Linked DNA regions of Homo sapiens: regions 2 and 3 are each linked to region 1. The links are contacts of gene promoters, found by promoter capture Hi-C in human tissues and cell types (Jung and others, 2019). All regions are on one chromosome and are shown on one strand. Each heading gives the region's core, a stretch centred on a gene start or on the middle of the fragment in contact. The rest is flanking DNA. Distances are from core to core; before and after follow the strand shown. Region 1 holds the start of DNTT (DNA nucleotidylexotransferase). Region 2 holds the start of LOC124902486 (a long non-coding RNA gene). Region 3 has its middle 42 kb from the start of ZNF518A.

Region 1 (4,361 bases), core at 1,228-3,727:
CTATCCAATTAAAGTCTATATATCTATGCACAGAAATTCCGTTTGAGACCTAGGACTTCTACTTCCTGTGGTTTATTTTTGCGCCATAGAGCACATTTGTATTTAATGTGTCTTCTGAGCTACCAGCCTGGGAACTTTGCCATCATCACATGCACAGCGGCAGTTTGCTCACCATGCACCAGTGAGCTTCCTCCGCCGCCTGAGCAGCTGGGCTTGGTCCCTGGCAGCAGGCATCTGGGGCATGTAGCTGCCTCTTCAGCTGTCCTGCCAACAGAAGAAACTTACCTCCCATCATCTCCCTGAGTGCCTGCCTCAGCCGCCTTGTATGTATTCATTGCTGTGTCTATAATAAATCAGCGGGTCCTTGCTGGAAGCTTGGACGTTTCAATGGAGAGCTTTCCAGTAAGTGGTGCTTCTGGTTCTTTCCTTCCTGCCTAACCCTTGTCAAATTTCTTTACCATGAAAAGCAGTTCCATATTTGCTAAGGCTTTTAATTTCTTTTCCAAAAAATCTATTTTTGGCCAGACGTGGTGGCTCATGCCTGTAATCCCAGCACTTTGGGAGGCCAAGGCAGGCGGATTACAAAGTCAGGAGATAGAGACCATCCTGGTCAACATAGTGAAACCCCGTCTCTACTAAAAACACAAAAATTAGCTGATTGTGGTGGCGCGTGTCCGTAGTCCCAGCTACTTGGGAGGCTGAGGCAGGAGAATCACTTGCACCTGGGAGGCGGAGGTTGCAGTGAGCCGAGATTGTGCCACTGCACTCCAACCCGGGCAACAGAGCAAGACTCTGTCTCAAAAAAAAAAAAAAAAAAATCTATTTTTTTGGCTTCTTTACCTATATAATCTTCCTGTCTTCTCCAACTCTAGCCTTCTATGTAAGTCTGTAATATCAGGCAGGCTTAACAGTTAGATGAAATCTAGGATTTTCTTGGAAAGGATGTTAGAAAATGAGATTCAGAGTGGCTGTAGGAGGTTACAGAGAGGCAGCAAGAGAGAAAAGGAGACCTTGCAAAGAGAAATCAGGTGGAAGAAGGGCCATAGGAAATTCAGGAATTTCTGAATGGGGCATTTTAGCAAAAAATGAATGAAAAGTCAATGTCATATGAATCAGGGTGTTGCGAACATTAACATATCTGAAAATTGACTTTTGAAATATGTCTCCTCAACACTTGGAAGCTGACATTTCTTCTGCATGACATGCTTGTCAGTTTTATTTTCAAATATCAAAGACTATTTATACAATCAAAATGTCCTTTCACATAAAATTTTTATAGTTTTGCCTGAAAATTTGTGGTCAATTTATTTCTTGCACAGTCAAAGCGGTCAACTGCATAAATCATTACTCCTTCATTGCAAGCCCCTTAACAGTTTAATCCAGAACCATCACTTATGTCAAGGTTCTAATACCATTTGTTTCTGGATTTTGCTTGTTTTCTCTTCATCTATTTGAGATCAGTGAAGAGCTTACACAGAAGTTAGAAAAACAACAAGAATAATTGCTGTTCAAGGTGAGTGGATTAGTGAGTGAACCAATCTAGGTGGTCCAAATGCTTCTATCGCCTCCTTGCCTGGGCTCTGATTACATCTCACTCAGTGTGATGTCTGTCATCCCTGGACAGAGCTGTCTTAACAGTGAATACATCTTTACCTAGCATCTCTCTTTCTAAGAACCCCACTAGGACCACTCTTTGGAAAAATGTGGTCAAGGCCACATCTGGGTGCCTGTGGTAAGCTGGCTAGTCATCCTCGCCCACCACAGATGCTAGCTGCCTTAGCACGCCCAGATGTATAGGTAAGAACCAAGCAACCAAATCATCTTTCTGCATCAAAGTAGCCAAAACTTTTTTGTTGAACCCAGTGATACTTTGTTCAAATTGGTCAAGAATAGAATTGAGTGGTTCAGCATTAAATTTTCCAATTAGTGTTCTGCTTATCATCCCTAAATAACACATCTCATAGGAGTGAAAAGCAAAAAACAAAAAATTTATCTCATCTTTTGGTGTCAACTAGTTTCAATATAATTGTATTCAGTCCCCACTTATCTCGTTTTCCTTAACTAGTTGTTCTTTGATTTCAAATCTGCTGTTCTCCCAGTGGGAAGATCACCTCTTCCACATGTGGAAGAAAACACAGGTTCCTTGGGTTCCCAAGAAGCTGTTCACAAAGCCTCTGCTTATTTACAAAGCAAGATCGATGCTGTCCTACCTGAGCTCATTTTCAACCCTGAACCCTTTCCTGCGGGCCAGCTCCATGAGGAACGCTCTGCGGGTGGTTCCCATTTTCTTCTCCAAAATGAAGACGACCAAATCTTGAAATTTGATGTCTTGAGGAGAGGAGGCCATCAAGGCACCCGTCTGCCGGGGTCTCTTCTTCCGAGGGCTCAAGTGGGACGCTCGTGGTGGATCCATGGGAAGAGGCTGCTGCTGCCTCTGGCTGGCCCATCTGGTGGTGTCTCCAGAAGGGAGGGAGACTGCCACCCTCCTACACGAAGGGTTTTGATGTCATCTCACCAGCAGACTCTGAAGCCAGGCCAGGGCTTCACAGGTGCTGCCCTGGCAACAGCTTCCTGCCAAAGTGTGATGGGGAATTTTTATCTCTGTTCAGTTCATTTGTCCAATATGGAGATCATAATGAAGACAGTCAATTAACTTTTGTTTTCATACGCACAATCTCATTAGCTCCTCAGAGTAACCTCGTGAGGAAGGTAGGGAAGCATCATTGTTTGCATGTTATTTATTTCTAAATGTACTGAGGCCCTTCTGTGGTCTTTATTTATTGATCCCCTTTAAACCTCCCAACTCACTTGCATTCTCCTCCTTTTGTAGACAATCATTACACTGTACTGGATGTCTGTTATTTGCATGGGTGTTATATTCTGCTTGTGGTTGTTTTGACTTTACATAAATGGCATTGTTACATTTCTCATTTTGCCAATCACCTTTTTATTTCACTTGGAACTATGTTTTCCAGATCCGTATTCTAATTGCTCTGTTGCTTCTAACTGCTCCATAGTATTTCATGGTGGGTATTACCACCTGTTCACTTACATAGGTACATTTTATAAGCAAGAGAACCAAGGCTCAGTTATTCAAGATCACAGAATAAGGGGCCAAGCCATATCTTGAATTCAGTTCTTTGGATTCCAAATGCTGTATGCATATATTAGTTTTTTAAGTGGATTAAGGTTGTCCAGAGAGTAGTCTGTTATAAACCCTAAAATAGGTCTTCTTCAGTGGGATGGTATGACTTTTAGATGATAACCACTGCCATAAGGAGACATTTTCATAACTTTATGTGCAAAATTAAATTTGTCTTTCACCAATACACTCTATAGATCTCATTTCCTGAGCAGCTACTACACGGCCAAGGCAAGCACCTACCAGCCTTAGCTGACAGGATCCTCACAATACCACTGTCAGGTGGTCCTACCTTTCTCATTTGGCTAAACAATTTGCCCAAGGTCACAGAGCTACTGAATTTTCACAACTGAGAAATGATTGAGCTAGGATTTGGACTCAGATCTGTCTGATTTTAAAAGACTACTCTTAACCACCAAGGAGCCTTCCTCTGTATTGTCTTCTCCAATAACCAATCTGAGCTCTGCTCACCCTTTGTCCTTTTTTTTTTTTTTGGAGATGGAGTTTCGCTCTTATTGCCCAGGCTAGAGTGCAGTGACACAATCTCAGCTCACTGCAACCTCCACCTCCTGGGTTCAAGCGATCCTGCTACCTCAGCCTCCTGAATAGCTGGGATTACAGGCGCACGCCACCACGCCTGGCTAATTTTTGTATTTTTAGTAGAGATGGGGTTTCACCATGTTGGTCAGGCTGGTCTTGAACTCCTGACCTCAGGTGATCGGCCCACCTCGGCCTCTCAGAGTGCTGGGATTACAGGTGTGAGCCACCATGGCTGGCCGTCTGTGCCATATTATTTGAGACTTTTGCTATCTCCAAAACACGTGAGCACCTCACAACCGTATTAGGGGAAGAGTCATGTGACAGCTGCCTTAAGGCATGGGTAAAGCACTCTGTGTTGCTCAAGAAAGCAAAATCAGAAATCTTCAGGTGGAAATTGTAGAGTAATAGATTCCAGTTCTCCGCAAGTAAGACCTGTTTAGTAACTCAGCTGTCTAAAAATATACAGAGAGCAGCTTTATACAGTTGTGTGTTACAAGTCATGAAAAGTATTCAAACAGATGCTGGATAACTGTTTATTGAGCTGTAACAGAAGGGAATTCAGACATCTGGTAAGGGCCTATAATGCAGCCCTGAAATTCCCGGATGCTATGACTGTTTGCTAGAGATCAACTGGAAGATGAGAGTCTATTTTGACCCTCACTATTATGTGTTTGGTTAC
Region 2 (4,361 bases), core at 540-3,039, 160 kb after region 1:
TGCCAGCTTGTGGGAGGAAGGAGGAAGGGGGAAGCTAAAACAGAAAGAAATTTGGAGAAAGTTGGTTGACTTATAGTTGGATGCTAAGATTCTCTTCCCCACTCTATCATGCTATTGGTTACTGTTGTTTCCCCACTACAGAAGTCTAGAGGCTTACTCTCTACAGTGGGTAAAACGAATCTTTGTTTTAGGGGAGACCAGGCACAGGGGAGAGAGTAGGCACTATGCCAAAACCAAGAGGATTAAACGACCATATACATGAGACACAAACCCTCACCTCATATCCCCTTTTTTTCTGCTTCTAAGTTGGCTCCTAGGCGACAGCAATGCTCCTTAAACTATGGTCTGCTGATGGCCCATAAGCCATCTATCACCAGTCCATGACAAGGTAAGTACCAAAACCGAAAATAAACATTTATAAACTTTTCAGAGTTAGACTTATCTGTTGAATCTAATAATAAAAACATGTACTTATGTTTTGTATGTCTTCATTTTTAAAATTTCATTATTCTGGCAATTTATTTTTATTATGCTTTAAAATTATCAGCTGTAACAGATTGAGGTAAAAGAAAAAAAAAATCAGGCCAGGCACGGTGGCTCACGCCTGTAATCCCAGCACTCTGGGAGGCCGAGGCGGGCAGATCACCAGGTCAGGAGATCAAGACCATCCTGGCTAACATGGTGAAACCCCGTCTTTACTAAAAATACAAAAAATTAGCCGGGTGTGGTGGTGGGCGCCTGTAGTCCCAGCTACTCGGGAGGCTGAGGCAGGAGAATGGTGTGAACCTGGGAGGCAGAGCTTGCAGTGAGCCGAGACCATGCCACTGCACTCCAGCCTGGGCGACAGGGCGAGACTCCGTCTCAAAAAAAATTCTGGAGCTTCACTAGTTGGAGAAGCACTGGGCCAGATTCTGGTGCCTGGCCCAGCCCAAAGAGCTCCCCACAGTGGGAGTCAAAACCTTGTGTTACAAGCCCTTCTGTGGGTTCAGACAGGGGCTTTCCATGAGCTTCTGAGACACAAGCAGACAGGCCAGAGGATTACTGGACAGTCTGAGAAAACCCTCTAATATTAGTTCAAGATCCAGACCAATTAAATCAAAAAAAGTAATTTGTTAGAAACTGAGACTATGTACTAAGACAAAACATTTTTTTTTTTGAGACAGAGTTCCACTCTTGTTGCCCAGGCTGGAGTGCAATGGCACGATCTCAGCTCACCACAACCTCCACCTCCCAGGTTCAAGCGATTCTCCTGCCTCAGCCTCCCTAGTAGCTGGGATTATAGGCATGTGCCACCACACCAGGCTAATTTTGTATTTTTAGTAGAGACATGGTTTCTCCGTGTTGGTCAGGCTGGTTATCGAACTCCCAACCTCAGGTGATCCACCCACCTCGGCCTCCCAAAGTGCTGGGATTACAGGCGTGAGCCACCGCGCCCGGCCAAGACAAAACATTTAAAACTCATTGATTTCTAGGGATATAAGAAATAAGAACAGGATGCCACAAAAAGGGAACATCAAAAGAACAAAAAGAACTCTAAGAAATAAGAAAACATAACCAAAAAGGGGCAACAGAAGGGCTATAAGGTAAAGGTGAAATAACCTCTCAGAAAAAAACAAAACACAGAGATGAAAAATAGGAGAAACAAGGTAAGAAAGAAGAGCAATCTAGGAGGTCTAACATTTGACTAACAGGAGGGCAGGAAGAGAGTACAAAGGGGAAGGAAATCATCAATAAAATAACTTTTTAAAGTACTGAGCTGTAGGAAATCAGTTTCCAGGATGATAATGTCCACCAAGTGCTCAGTGTAAGGTACGCAGGCATATCATTGCAAAGATTCCTAACAGTAGAGACAAAATCCAGTTTCTAAATAGAAACAAAAAAGGTCAGAAAACAAAGGATTAGAAATCAAATGACTTTAGATTTCTCAGCAACAGTAACAGATGGACAAAGACAAAGGGGCAATACCTTCGAATTCTGGCATAAAGCTTTCAACCGAGAATTCTACATTTTGCCAAGGGTCTAGGTATAAGGGTAAAATGAAGACATGCAAAATCTCAAAATTTACCTGCCAGACATCCTTCCCCAAGTTGTTACTATAAGATATACTCCAGCAAAATGAAAGAATAAACAGAGAGAGAGAAAGACATGACATAATATGCATTGGGAGATCAAATGGAGGAGAGAGAAGTAAATAATATCCCCAAGATGACAGTAAAGGGAAATACCAGGATAACAAACAGTTGGACCACAGATCACATGCTCCTGTCAGTCCAAAGACAAGACATCTTTGACATCAAAAGACACACTGAGGACTTCCATCACCAAAAACGTCACTGACACTGTACCGTCTTTTCAACCATTGGACAGAATCCCCAGGTAAGCCTGGCCCAGATTCTCATCTGTATTTGGCTTGTATTGACATAAACTCATGATGTTCCTGCTTTTCCCTCCATACCTTTATATCCAGATCAACTGCATGGTGAGCTTAGAAACCAAAATTACAGAGTAGCCTCTCTCAGACATCCACTATCTGGTCTATACTCTGAGCCTGCCAGATTCTCTGCTTACAGTGGGCCCTAAGGTTGCTAGGATTCACTCATGATTTACCTAGACTTCCCCAAAAGTGGCTCTGATAAACTCCAGAGAAGCTAAAACCAGACTATGATCCAGGTATGCTGTTACCTTAACTTCTCCTGGGAGCCTTCATCTACTAGTGGCACTGTTACCTTTTCACTGTATAGCCAGATTTAGGCTTGCTACCAAATTTTCAAAACTAAACAATTTGGTGTTTATAGTCACCAAAATACCAAAAGTCAGAATGGTAGTTTCATATTTGTTAGGAGCAGAGAGGAGGATATGACCAGAGAGAACACAATGAGGGTAGAGGAAAGGAGCTTCTGTTTCTTAAATAGTTGGTATGCAGATATTTGTTTTATCTTTAAACCACATACATAGTGTGCATTTTGTCCATAAACACATTTCATAATAAAAATAAAAACAAGTTACAAACTAGGCAAAAGACCCAAAGAAGAAAGTCACAGAGGAATATAAGTGAAAACATGCCCAACTTCACTAGAATTCAAAACAAATAAAAACAAGAAAACTTCTGCTAATCAGATTGCAAAAGATGTTACATATTTCTAATACCTAGTGTTGGTCAGTGAGGAAAAAAAGGCACAGTAATATACTAATGATGGAGATAAAAGCTGGCATGACCTTTATAAAGAACAGTTTGCAATACATACATAAAGAGTCTGGAGAAAAGGCATACAACTTCTGATTCACTTCTAGAAATGCATCCTAAAGCTAATAATCAGAAATATTATTTGTGCCATCGTTTATAAAATCACAAAATTAAAAATAAGTGTCCACCAATAAATGATGATTAAATCAATTACAGTATTGTAAGGGAATATTATGCAATTTAAAAACCAATACTGTAAACTCACATTTATTAACACAATGATATCTAACATACCTTAAGTGAAAAAAAAATAAACAGTAGACATATAGAGTTTAATTTGTTCAAATACTGATAGATGGATAGAAAATGGATAAACAAATGCGTCAAAAGTTAAAAGTCAAGAAGAATACACATACAAAAATGTTCCTAGTGATCACTGGTTACTCTTAGGTCAGTGTTTCATAAAATGCTGTCTTAGATCACCATGGCCTCCACACTGGCATACTACCTTATGATAGCACAAGCAAACACCTTACATTTGGACTTTGTGAGAACAGCAATCTTTTTGTCTCTAGACTGCAATTTTATGAAACTTTATGAAAAAGTGGCATGATGCAAATTCTCAAACAAAGCAAGTGATTTCTGTGGTAAACCAACTGAGTTTTTCTTAAACTCAAAATAATATACTTGCTGCCAGTATAAAACAGATCAATGTTGACACTAAAGGTGAAGAAGAGATCAAAACAATACAGGTATCATTCAATTCTGTGTTCTCCATATCAACACACACGTACCCAGTCATACCACTGCAGAGAACACTTTAACACAAGCGTCAAAGTTAATGGTAAACACTCAAGAGAATGATGAATTATGTTACTGAATTTCATTCATGCTATATAAATTCATGCTATAAGAGAAGTGTTTTTAGTCGGTTTATTTAACAATTAATTTGTGAGGAATGAGGCTACCTAAAAAGTAATGGGAATTAATACAACCAGAATAGCAGTTATGTATGCAGTGTTGTTACATAAATAAAAAGATGCGACCAGGAGCGGTGGCTCACGCCTTTAATCCCAACACTTTGGGAGGCCAAGGTGGGAGGATCACCTGAGGTCAGGAGTTCAAGACCAGCCTGACCAACATGGTGAAACCCCATCTCTACTAAAAATACAAAAAT
Region 3 (4,361 bases), core at 502-3,001, 130 kb after region 1:
AGTAAGTTTTTTTATTTTTTAAATATACTCACAGATATAAATTTCCCTCTAAGCACTGCTTTAGTCACATCTCACAAGATTTGGTGGGTTATGTTTTTTCTTTTATTAACCTCAAGAAAGTTTGTTACTTGATTCATTGATTATTTATGAGTATTGTTCAATTGCCATATATTTATGAATTTTCAAAATTTCCTTTGTTTTTAAGTTCTAATTTAATTCTATTGTGGTTGGAGAACACACTTTGTATCATTCCCATCCTCTCAAATTCACTGAGACTTGTTTTATATGGTATATCCTGGAGAATGTTCCATGTTCTTTGGAAAAGCATATCTATTCTCCTGTTTTGGAGTGGATTTCATAGATGTAGTAGATCTAGTTTGTAGTGCTGTTCAAGTTTTCTATTTCCTTGCCAATCTTTTGTTGTTATTTTATTCATTTATGCAAAGTGGAGTATCAAAGTGTCCAACTATCATTCTTTACTTGTCTACTTCTCCCTTCAATTCTGTCAGTTTTTGCTTCATGGATTTTGTGGTTCTGTTATTAGGTGCATATATGTTTAAAATTGTTATAGCTTCCTGATGAGTTGACACTTTTACTGTTATAAAATTTCCCTCTTTATAGTTAATAATGTTTTTTGAAAATAAATTCTTGTTGTTTCATCCCCTCAGTCTATGGTATTTTGTTATGGCAGCCCAAAATGACTGAGACAACATGTTTTTCCATTTTTAAAATTTCAACCTACTAATATCTTTGAGTCTAAAGTGTAGCTCCTGTAGACAGAATGATTTGTTCAGATTCATGGGACAAAAACTAGAACTGTGATCTCCACAGAGGGTGCTGGTGAAATCAGCTCTCTTGGTCAGGGGTTGTAAAAAGCCCTGGTTTGTACCTGTTGCCAATTTCCATAATATAAACAGTTGTCTCTTAGCCTCCATGGGGGACTGGTTCTAGAAGCTCTTGTGGAAACTAAAATTATGGATGTTCAAATCCCTTATGTAAAATGGCATAGTATTCACACATAACCTACAAATATCCTCCTGTATATTTTAATCTCCAGATTACTTATAATACCTAATACAATGCAAATGCTATCTAAATAGTTGTTATACTGTATTGTTTAGGGAATAAGAAAAAAAGTCTGTACATGCTCAGACACAATCATCATAAGCCTAACTACATTTTTGATCCATGATTGATTGAATCTGCAGATGTAGAACGCACAGATATGGAGAGTTTACTGCACATGAATCTTATTTATCCAGTCTGAAAATTTCTGCCTTTTGATTGGACTGTTTAATCCATTCACATTTAATGTTATATTAATATAGTTGGATTTATGTCTACCAGTGTGCTTTTGTTTTTTATAGGTTTCATTCCTTTTTTGTTAATTTGTTTCTCCTTTACTGTTTTCTTTGGCTATTTTAAAATAAATTTTAATCCCTTTAATGATGTTTTATTTTTGAGGAATTTTCTTAGTGGTTGCTCTAGGGCTTACAATATACATCTTTATCAGAATCTATTTCAGATAAATACAAACTTAATTCCAGTGAAATATCAAAACTTTACTACTATATGGCTCTGTTCCCTCCCCCACCTTATTGTTACACACAATAGGTTTACATGTTACAAACCCAAGAATAAACTGTTATACTTATTAATAATTTTGTGTCTTTTAAAGGTAATTTAAAAAGAACAAGTATATATTTATAGAGTTTTTCATATGAGCCTTCTTATTTACTATTATGGTTCTTTTCACTTCTTCCCGTGGATTTGAGATACTCTCTGGTGTCATTTCCTTACTGCAAAATAGCTTTATTCCCATCTACTTTCCTTGTGTTGTTATAACATTTCTGCTATTGGCCCCAAAATACAATTATATGCATAATGTTTTATTTGATTGCCTTTTAAGAGAAAGGAAAATAAAGATGCAATTATATTCTCTTTTATACTTACTTACTTTCATGTAATGTCTTTCTTTTTTCCTGTGAATTCAAATTATTCTCGACATCATTTGCTTTCAGTCTTAAGAACTTTTAGTATTTACTGAAAGGTAGGTTTGCAACAAATGAATTCTCATTTTGCTTATTTGAAATATCCATTTTGCCTTCAATTTTGAAAGACAGTTTTGTTTCTATTTCAAAACTTTGAATATGTTATCCACTTCCCTTTAGCCTTCTTGGTTTTGGGGAGAAGTCAGCTATTAATCTTATTGGGGGTTCCATGCATCATTTTTCTTATGATAATTTCAAGATTTTTTTTTTGTCTTTCAACATTCTGACAATAACATGTCTACTTTTGAATCTCTTTGCATTTATCCTACTTGGAGTATGTTGAGCTTCTGAAAATATGTTTTTCACCAAACTTGGGAAGTTTCTAGTCATTATTTCTTTGACTACTTAAAAAATTTTTCATTACACATATGTTGCCCTTAATGGTGTCCCACATTATACATGTGTCTATGTGTGCTTACTATCATTTGCATACCATATAATTCACACATATAAAATGTACACTTCAATGGTTTCTTAGTGAATTCCCAGAATTACACAACAATCACAATTTTAGAACATTTTTATCACTCCTTGTCCTTTAGCAGTCCCCTCTGTATTTCCTTTAAACACCTTTAGCTTTAAGCAACCACTACTAATCTACTTTCATTCTTTGTAAATGTGCCTATTCTTGACATTTCATATGAATGGACTCATGGTTTTGTTACTGGCTTCTTTCACTTAACCTAATGCTTCCAACATTCATCCAAGTTGTAGCATAAATTACTATCTCATTTATTTTTATGATTGAATAATATTCAATTGTATAGATATACACATTTATTTATGCATTCATCAGTTGATGGACTTTGGGTTGTTTCCACTTTTAAGGCCACTATGAATAATACTGCTATTAACATCCTTGTATAAATTTTTGTGTGAACACCTGTTTTAAATTATTTGGGGTATATACTTAGGAGAAGCAGCTCTGGGCCACAGGGTAACATTACATGTAACCTATTGAGGAAGTCCCATACTGTTTTCCAAGATGGCTGTACCATTTTGCATTCCCACCAACAGTGTATGAGGGTTCCAAACTCTTCCTGGCCTCATCATCTGGGTTTTTTTTTTTTTAGTGGTATCTCACATGGTTTTGGTTTTCATTTCCCTAATGACTAATGATGTTGCGCATCTTTTCATGTGCTTTTTGGCCATTTGTATATCTTCTTTAGAGAAATGCTATTCAGATCTTTTGCCCACTTTAAATTGGGTTACGTCTCCTAAGTTGTAAGGGTTCATTATTCTAAATTAAAATGCATAATCAGATGTATGATATACAACATTTCTTCCCAATCTGTGGGTTGTCTTTTCACTTTCTTGATGATATCCATTGAAGCAATATTTTTCAAATTTCGATGAAGTTAAATTTATCTATAATGTGGTGTCAGTGAAAATAGCAAAGACTTTGAAATTCTGCCCTAACATAAAAGCAATTAAAAGTCTGGCAAACAAACTGTCACAATCAACTTTTTTGGAACTTTTTAAACTAATCAAAAGCTTTTAGCATCCCAGGAAGTGCTTACCCAAGAAAAATGGCTGAATCTCAGAACAACAGCTTTGTGGTATTTTAAGTTACTCTAGTCTCATTCTCCACTCCTCACCTCAGCAACAGCACTGTAAATAACAGCCCTCATTCCCAGTACTAGAGGAAGAACAGTCTTCAATCACAAAATACCTTAACTATTTATACTGACCTGTCTGGTGGCTCCCTGGAAGTCCAGCTCAGAAGGCCTGTCTTTATTTTGCCTAACTTGGAGTTGGTCCAGAGCTAAAGTTGCTAACTAGGGGTAATGTTTAAAATATTAGCAGCCAAATGCTTTATTTGCTGCTGCCTGGGGTGACAGATAACAACTGGGGCAGGCAACAGACTAACCAAAAAGCTTGGAAGAAAAGCCTGGGAAATGAGATGTCCATAGGGACTTTGTAAAGCTTTAACATACTCCTGAGAATCTAGAAGGTCACACTCATGCCCAGGGCTGTACGTGTGCTTAGAAAAGATGTGAGAAGGCACTAAACTCTCACAATGGCCAACCTGGAGGCTGAAGGTGAAGGCAGAGTTGTAAGCCACCTGGCTGAATGTTGATGTGTCACAAAAACACACAAGTCCCTTAGCAAACACTGGAAGATTTATTCATTCCAGGTGTTTATCTCTGTCTACTTATTAGCTGACCATTAAACTCACAGAACAAAGACTTTCATGGCCACAAATGGCAAAGAATACAAGCATTACAAAATCAGTTCAGAAAAGTCACTAGACAACAAGTACAAAACACGGTAAGAATAACAAACCTGAGAGGTTGGAGGGGAGAATCT

What was found. The method cuts DNA at HindIII sites, captures the fragments that hold promoters and counts their contacts. A contact is called where the count stands out against the background at its distance.
Region 2: a contact is called between a fragment that was not itself captured here and the fragment with the promoter of DNTT in region 1, in 1 of the 25 tissues and cell types used here (liver).
Region 3: a contact is called between a fragment that was not itself captured here and the fragment with the promoter of DNTT in region 1, in 2 of the 25 tissues and cell types used here (mesenchymal stem cells and spleen).

The regions. Positions count from the first base shown.
Region 1 is chr10:96,302,550-96,306,910 of GRCh38, reverse strand. It overlaps DNTT (DNA nucleotidylexotransferase), which reads right to left and starts at 2,477. Exons shown (of 11, transcript NM_004088.4): 1 at 2,211-2,477. The coding sequence starts at 2,413. The HindIII fragment of the contact is 8,985 bases long and covers 1-4,361 here.
Region 2 is chr10:96,145,236-96,149,596 of GRCh38, reverse strand. The region is part of intron 3 of ZNF518A (zinc finger protein 518A); the gene reads right to left. LOC124902486 (a long non-coding RNA gene) reads left to right here and starts at 808. Exons shown (of 2, transcript XR_007062254.1): 1 at 808-4,361. The HindIII fragment of the contact is 5,609 bases long and covers 1-4,361 here.
Region 3 is chr10:96,169,785-96,174,145 of GRCh38, reverse strand. It overlaps a transcript of ZNF518A not described here. Among named protein-coding and RNA genes, the nearest start is that of ZNF518A, 42 kb to the right of the region's middle. The HindIII fragment of the contact is 4,404 bases long and covers 1-3,953 here.